Regions from separate parts of the Homo sapiens genome. Here region 2 is linked to region 1. Evidence: promoter capture Hi-C in 16 types of primary human blood cells and fetal thymus (Javierre and others, 2016). All regions are on one chromosome and are shown on one strand. Each heading gives the region's core, a stretch centred on a gene start or on the middle of the fragment in contact. The rest is flanking DNA. Distances are from core to core; before and after follow the strand shown. Region 1 holds the start of ZCCHC7 (zinc finger CCHC-type containing 7). Region 2 holds the start of ATOSB (atos homolog B).

What was found. The method cuts DNA at HindIII sites, captures the fragments that hold promoters and counts their contacts. A CHiCAGO score of 5 or more calls a contact.
Region 2: a contact is called between the fragment with the promoter of ATOSB here and the fragment with the promoter of ZCCHC7 in region 1, in 1 of 17 cell types (monocytes). The highest score is 5.2, in monocytes.

Annotation. Positions count from the first base shown.
Region 1 is chr9:37,119,195-37,123,378 of GRCh38, reverse strand. It overlaps ZCCHC7 (zinc finger CCHC-type containing 7), which reads right to left and starts at 2,805. Exons shown (of 9, transcript NM_032226.3): 1 at 2,756-2,805. LOC105376034 (a long non-coding RNA gene) reads left to right here and starts at 2,979. Exons shown (of 3, transcript NR_188580.1): 1 at 2,979-3,583. RefSeq lists an enhancer at 3,064-3,143. The HindIII fragment of the contact is 2,192 bases long and covers 1,148-3,339 here.
Region 2 is chr9:35,114,581-35,118,389 of GRCh38, reverse strand. It overlaps ATOSB (atos homolog B), which reads left to right and starts at 2,528. Exons shown (of 9, transcript NM_025182.4): 1 at 2,528-2,585. RefSeq lists a silencer at 2,324-2,383 and an enhancer at 3,717-3,809. The HindIII fragment of the contact is 12,182 bases long and covers 1-3,809 here.

The DNA.
Region 1 (4,184 bases), core at 1,556-4,055:
TTATTTAGGTAGTTTATGTATGCCAGGGTTAAGGTCTGCCTAAGGTTGTTTTCGTTAATGTTACTGCTTTAATTACGTTCAAATGAATTTAATTTACCCTTTTAAAAAGTGTCTTGGAAGACAATATATGTTTTTTACACACACACGCACACGCACACACACACACACACACACACACACACACACACCCTTGACTCAGAAGGCTTTCTCAGCTTTTTTATCCCTGTACATGATTCCCAAGTATACTAACTAGGTAACAAAATCAGATTATCTCATACAGACTCCTCAATCTTCCCATCAGGAAACTGAAATACAAAGAGATAGGAAGCCTATTCAAGGTTATGCAGCTGGTTAAGAACACGGCTAGAAGTGATTCACATTTCTGTGATTCTCAGCCAACTGTTTACTAAAATTTTTAAACAAATTTCTTTTTTTCCCCCTTGAGACGGAGTCTCGTTCTGTCCCCCAGGTGAGAGTGCAGTGGCGCAATCTCGGCTCACTGCAACCTCCTCCTCCTGGGTTCAAGAAATTCTCCTGCCTCCGCCTCCCAAGTAGCTGGGATTACAGGCACGCGCCACCACGCCTGGGTAATTTTTGTATTCTTAGCAGAGACGGGTTTCACCATGTTGGCCAGGCTGGTCTCGAACTCCTGACCTCGTGATCCGCCCCACTCGGACTCCCAAAGTGCCTGGATTACAGGCGTGAGCCACCGCACATGGCCCAAAATAAAATTTTCAAATAAGTTAACTTCAAATTAAGATTTTTTGAAGAAAAACCTTCCTTCATTGCAATATTTGCATTGGTTCTAACACCTAAATTTACCTCACAAATATCCATTTTATGTCCCAGCAGAGTTTAAAAACTAAATGAGACATTTTAGGTGTAAGGAAAACACACGTTTGTCAGTTTGCCATTTAAGAATCTCCCAAGTTGGTACTCAAAAACTATCAATCCCATGACCAGAAAAGATGTTTCCTATATAACATCTTAAAATATCATGCAAATGAAACTTATCTAAGAATTAAAATACCTTAACAAATATAAAACAGCTATAGAATAACTGCAAAGGCTATTACCATTCAAAAGAGGGAGCAGTATTCATTGACTGAATTGTTTTAAACTAGACAACTTAAGGCTTATTTAAGCTTTCAGCATTTACTTAACACAGTCTTTAATCAATCCTTCTGCTCTCACAGTCTACCTACTGGTCATTCTGACCTTTTGCTCTTATTTACTTCCAAATATCTTTAGCCTCCCTAGATGTTCCTTCTTGATGACACACGCATCCATCTCCGGCCGATTTAAATCAAATCCACAGCCTCATTTTCAGTCCAATTTTCATTGGAATGTGATGAATACACTTTACTTTCAAAGTAAAATTTTTCTTACTCTTAGTAAGCTGCCCTGACAGGACAGTTGAAACACAATTGTCTAAAGGGTTAAAATGTCTGTCCATTTTTCAAATGCGATGGCCACTCTGAATCAAATCTGATTGGGATGGAGAATCCAAATGTGTAAAACAAAAGTCACAAAAGACAAACAGAGCACAGTATTTCAGTGGGGGAAAAAAAATAAGCTAAATTTAGTCACTTAAGTCCCAGCTCTTCTTGGGATATATATATGATTTTTACGAGAACTAATCCTATCCGGAAACATTTCCTTCACCTTTCCCTTAGCCCTTTTCCTTCGGTCATGCAGTCTCTTACCGTGCTAATTATCATATTAATATAATCCTCACTTGCGATCCTTCCTGACTTTATTCCCCATGCTCAGATTCTCCTGAAAGCATAACGCTTTCCTAAGTATACACACAATCCATTTAAAAGTCTTTGTATGCGACAGCCTAACTATTCAAACACGAAGTCATTTCTCTAACGGTCCTAGAAAAAATTTTAAAAAGAAAAAGAAAACCACAAAGTCAAGAGCTTCTGAGGGGACCTGAAAAGTCATCAAATTGAACGCTCTCGTTTTATAGTTGGAGAAAGGAGCTCAGAGAAACTTATTCACTGAGCTAAAAAGGCCCTACTAATGCAGCCCGTAATTCAACTGTGCAATCTGAAATAATCTTAAATTCAGCTTCAATAAGAGCTTTCTGGAATCGCCAGCGAATCCGTGGGGGAGCCACGGCTAGAACCCAGGCCTCCTGATTCCCAGCCACAGCTTTTCCACCGAACCAGCAGCTCTTCCCAAAAGTTGAAGGCAACTGTCCGCTCACAGGATGGGAGGGATAAAGGGCGCCTTAGTAAACACAGTCCAAGTCTACTCGTTTTACATGAGGAAAGGGTCACAGCTCCCGAAATTTTGGATTCTACTGCTGCAGCTGCTGCTTCTGACAGCAGAGGCGGGAGGTGGCCCAGGACTACTCGGTCCTCAAAGACTGGACTCTCTCTCGGCGCGCCGGGACCTCCGCGCTTCACTGACTGGCTTCCCTAGAAGACTGGGGGCCTTGCGGGGAAATAAAAAGGGCAGACACGCCACCCTCACCGAGGCCCTAGACGCCCAGCCGCTCTAGAATCACGGCATTAGCCCTTGGAAAGCCAGGGAGACGCGGACCCCCTAGACCCGCAGCCCGGCCGCGTGGGGCGGCGCGCAGGTGACGGACCAGGAGCTGCGCCCTGCCACGAGTGAGGGGCGGACGGGAGACGTCGAGGCCGGCGAGGGGGCACGCGCTAGTTCCACAGCCCGGCGGGCAAGAAGGAGGGTAGGCAGGGGTCCCGAGCCGCGGGCGGCGGGGGTCCGTCACACACATACTCACTGCCGCAGCTGCGAACAGGAAGCACCAACCGGGAACCAAAACGCGTAGAGGGACGGGGAGGGGCGAGGACAAATGAGGTAAGGAGGCCGCGTCCGCGCAGACCCGGGAGGGAAGGCACTTCCGGGGACAACACAGCTCTAGTCACCGCCTTTCCGTCCCCGCCCACCTGCCGCGCCTGATGTGCGCATGCGTAGTGGGTGCGAACCGTTCTCTGCCCCGCCCATAATTATTAGGTTTGCCTTCCTTGCTTTCCCCCTTCCCCTTCCCAACTTCTCTTGAAGCTACCTAGGCTGCATCTATTATTTGAATGACTCGTACGAAGGAGATGCTATTTACCGGGCAAAAGCCGGGGAGTTCGTGCCCTCTACCCCCGCGAGGAAAACTACAACCCCCATGAGGACACGGGCGAGGTTGAGGCCGGGCTCCGCCTCCTTCTCCCTGGCGCTCGGTGGACGCCTTCTCAGTGCCACGTGGCGCGGGAGCCTAGCTGATCGCGTGCATGACGAGGGCCAGCGTGGCTGGCTGCTTGGCCCGCAGACCTGGGCAGCGGGAAACGCGTACTTGAGAGCGCATGGCTTCAAGCTTCTCCCTTGCGCTCATGATCTTAGGCTGGTCGCTTTTTCTTTTAGGCGGAACACAGTTCACACTGGGCGCCTCCAACTCTCTGGAATTCTAGGCAACAGATTAACACTTTGTGAATCTCGAAGAGCTGCACTCCTGCTAAATATTGGAGTTAATGCTGATCCTTTGGAAGTCTCTGAAGGTTGCAAGATTGTGCTGGGAGCCTCTGGCTTCATTTGCCCTTCTCACACCTTATTTTAATACAAGGTAAACCCATCTGTAGAACTTTAGAAATAACTGTCGACCTAAAGGAAAAACTGAGGCAAAGTTAATATAAGTGGAGAATTTATTTGGGCCAAGTTTGATGAGGGCAACCTGGGATCATCAATTCAAGTTGCCCTTAATATGTGATCCGATAAGCAGCAGTTTCAACTGAGTTCTTTGTCTTGTGAAGCTCCAGGCTTAAAGGTATCGATCCTCCCACCTCTGTCTCCCAAAGCACTGGGATCACAGGCATGAGCCATTACACTTCTTGTAGCAGCTACGAGTGAATTTTTTTCTTTCTTTATGGTTTTTTTTTTTTTTTTTTTTTTTTTTTTCCTGAGACGGAGTTTCGCAGTTGTTGCCCAGGCTGGAGTGCAATGGCGCGGTCTCGGCTCACTGCAACCTCCGCCTCCCAGATTCAAGCCATCCTCCTGCCTCAGCCTCCGAAGTAGCTGGGATTACAGGCGCCTGCCACCACGCCCAGCTAATTTTTGTATTTTTAGTAGAGTCGGGGTTTCACCATGTTGGCCAGGCTGGTCTCGAACTCCTGGCCTCGACCTGCCAAAGTGCTGGGATTAGAGGCGTGAGCCACCGCGCCCGGCCA
Region 2 (3,809 bases), core at 1,279-3,778, 2.0 Mb after region 1:
TCATCAAAAACAAGGAAGTTTGAAAAACTGTCACAGCCAAGAGGAGCCAAAGGAGACATGATGTCTAAATGTAATGTTCCAGCTTGGGTTAGATTTTGGCACAGAAAAAGGACATAAGGCAAAAACTAAGAAAATCAGAATAGGCCGGGCGCGGTGGCTCACACCTGTAATTCCAACACTTTGAGAGGCCGAGGCGGGTGGATCACCTGAGGTCGGGAGTTCGAGACCAGCCTGACCAACATGGAGAAACCCTATCTCTACTAAAAATACAAAATTAGCCAGGCGTGGTGGCACATGCCTGTAATCCCAGCTACTCGGGAGGCTGAGGCAGGAGAATCTCTTGAAACCAGAAGGTGGAGGTTACAGTGAGCCGAGATCTTGCCACTGCACTCCAGCCTGGGTGAAAGAGCGACAACTCCGTCTCAAAAAAACAAAAAGAAAATCAGAATAAAGTGTGGGTTTTAGTTATTGTTAATGTATCAATATTGGCTTATTAATTGTAATAAATGAACCATATAAGGAAAGATGTTAATAATAGGAGAAACTAGGTGTAGGGTATATATGAAAACTCTCTGCACTATTTTTACAAGTTTTCTGTAAATCTAAAATTGTTCTAAAATTAATTTTTTAAAGTCAAATAATTTACCTAAATCTATACAGCTAGTAAATACTCAAAGGTATGAGACAAACTCATAAGTTGAACCCATAAGTTGAAGTTTGAAGTTGAAGTTGAAGAAGTTTAGATGACTTCAAACTCTGTGGTTTTCCCACTACCCAAAACCTTTCTTAGTTTACCCTTCTGGGATTATGTAGGCATTTGTATCACTGTCTAAATAATAAGTTCCTTATGGCCAGAGAAAATACTTTTTTCTTTCTTTTTTTTGCGCTTCCACACCACTGACGTTGAGTAAACCAGTTTAAGTTAACTACTGACAAAGTCACAGAGCCTAAAGAATCTGAGATTTGGCCGGGTGCTGTGGCTCACGCCAGTAATCCCAACACTTTGGGCAGCCGAGGCGGGCGGATCGCTTGAGGTCAGGAATTTGAGACCAGCCTGGCCAACATGGTGAAACCTGTCTCTACCAAAAATACGAAAATTAGCCCGGCCTGGTGGCGCGCGCTTGTAATCCCAGCTACTCTGAAGGCTGAGGCAGGAGAATTGCTTGAACCCAGTAGGCGGAGGTTGCAGTGAGCCGAGATCGCACCACTGCACTCCAGTTTGGGCGAAAGAGCGAGACGCCGTCTCAAAAAAAAATAAAAAAGAATGTGACTTTTGTAGAACTTGATCAAATCCAGACCCAAACGGTCCGCTCCTCGGAGAGGCCACAGATCGGCGCTGAGCTGGGCTGTCTCAGTTCTGCAAGTGTCCTGTGCTGCCATCTACCGGTGTCTGGGAAGCGTCGCCCTCCCTTATTGTATCTCCTGGGGAGAGGTTGGAGAGGGCGCCGCTTAAACTGCAGAACATATGTAACTGTCATGCAGTTCATTAGACACCTGTACAAGGGAAAGGCCTCACTTTTCTCCAGCAATTGCAGGCCCTCCTAACTCCATATCAACACTCATCTCGTAAAATTCACAGATCTCGCTGACCTGCCTCAGTAGGTACTGATCTGACTCCTACTGTCCATCCCATCCCAGAACCCACACCCGCCTGCACAGCGTAGGCTTCAGAAACTGCTCAACCTCGCAGACCTGAACCCCACCGCCCAGATTCCCTCATTTTCACAGACCCCTGAGATTCCTTGCACTACCTTGCAATCCCTACGGACCTCCCCTATTAGTGCAAATGCACGCGCCCACCCAGACATCCCTACAAAGAGGTTAGAGTTCCGGCGGCAGCTCACACCGGTGCGAAAGCAGCGAGATAGCCCCAACCCGGCTCAGAGCCCTCAGGCTGGTGGCTTTGGCCCTGGCTCCATCTCCCCACCTCTGCCCTGATCCGCTCCGCTCAGGCTAGCAGCCTGCCGGCCGAGGCCCCGCCCCTCTAGACTTGTCATCACAGAAGCCGCACGTGGCCGGGGTGGGACCTCAGGCGACCTGCGACCATCACTTTGTCTCCTCCTTCCTCCTTTGGGGCCGCCACCGCCAATCAGAGCCAGCGGATCCTGGTTGGAGTGCGACCGCCCGGGTGAGGCGTGAGGGAGAAGGGGCGGAAGGAGGAGGGGCTCTGAGATGGGAGGGGGATCGTGGTGGAAGGGTCTTGGCGCGACTTCTGCCAGGCTGGAATCCGAGGGGGCGGGTCCTGGTGAAAGGCGGAGAGACCGAGAGGAGGCGGGGATCGGGGGTGGGGCCTGGGAAAAGCTGAGGATCCTGGGGAAATGCAAAGAAAACGCGAAGGAGGTGCGAGGTCAGAAGGGGGCGGGGCCCGGGCTACAGGGGAGGAGCTCGAGAAATTAAACGAGGAAAGGGACAAGTCCACAGAAGGTGGAAGGTGGGACAAGGGAGAGGGTGGGCCCGGGCGTTGCGGGGGCGGGGCTCAGACTGAAGGGGCGAGGTTTGCAGGCGGAGGCTACAGCTAGGGCTGCTCAGTAACTGCCCCAACCACTACCACGTCCCCAAGTGCAACGGGACCCACGGAACTACAGGTGTGGGGCAGGGTGAGCGTGGAAGAAGGGACGCGGATGGGGGTGCGCTTTGCAGACGATCTGGAGACTGCTGTGTGTTGAGGGAAGATACGAAGTCGCGGGAGCAGTTGGGGACTCAATGTGTGGGCAACAAGGTGCATTCTCCAGAGGCCTCTATGGGGGAAGGGCGGGAGCGCTTTGTTGTGGGGGGGTTGCGAGGTACATTGTGAGGGGGCTGTCTCTGTCTGATGTGGGGGGTTGGAGGAGGTACATGAGGGGCAGGGGACATGGAGGTGCTTTGAAGGAAGGGGGGCTGTTTAATGGAGAAGGAGTGTAGCGGTGTCGGAGGGTCTGCGGGCACTATCTAGGGGAAGGGGTTGTAGGCCCAACTTGAGGCAGGAGAACAGAACCCCCAGTACTTTGACAAAGTAACAGTTTAGGGCATTGTAGTAACTACAGGAAGACACTTGTGTTCTGGGTTCTAAGAGCAAGGGTGTTGGGGTTAGTGGGGTGAAGAGGCCAATCTATTGCACTCCTGTCTGCTCAGCTTTTAACTCCGCCTTCTGGCCTGGGCACTCAGAGAGGAGTCAGACCCTGCTTGTCACTAGGGCTTGTGTGAATGTCTCCTCAGTCTATTTTGGATCTGTCCAGCTGAGACTGGGGTTTCTTCCCTAAGCTGAGGTCCCGGGGGACCCTTCCCCCGCTGGGTTCCTGTCAACCCCCCATCCTAGTTCCTGTTCCTCCCAGAGCCGGCCTTGGTCTCTGTCTCCCCCCTCCCCCGCCCTGCCCTTATGCTCTGGGTGTGCTCATTTCCCACTTCCTTCCTTGCCCCAGGGCCTGGCCTGGCCCTTGCCCATCTAGGAGCTGTGCCCTGCCCGGTACTTTGTTATCAATGACCAGAGACCCTGGTAACCAGCGGCAGGGCTCAGACCCCACCCCCACCACTACCACCCAGGTCTCTCGCATAGATCCCCAAGTGACTGGTAGCCACATTTAACCACTTGCCACAAACAGATTTTCCCCACCCTTATCCTTCTGGGTAGGGAACGCTAGGGCTTCTGTGGGAGGGGGGAAGTGGTGAGGAGTATTGAGGGTCTTCTGTCTGTTTTGAGAGGTGGGCCACGACTGTAAGCTGAACCCAGTAAGGGTTGTGAGGTTCCAGCCACAGCTAGGGGAGGAAGAGGGAGTGGCTCCCCACACTCCAGGCTTGGAAGCACTATCAGAACAGGCTAGGACCTAGTTCTC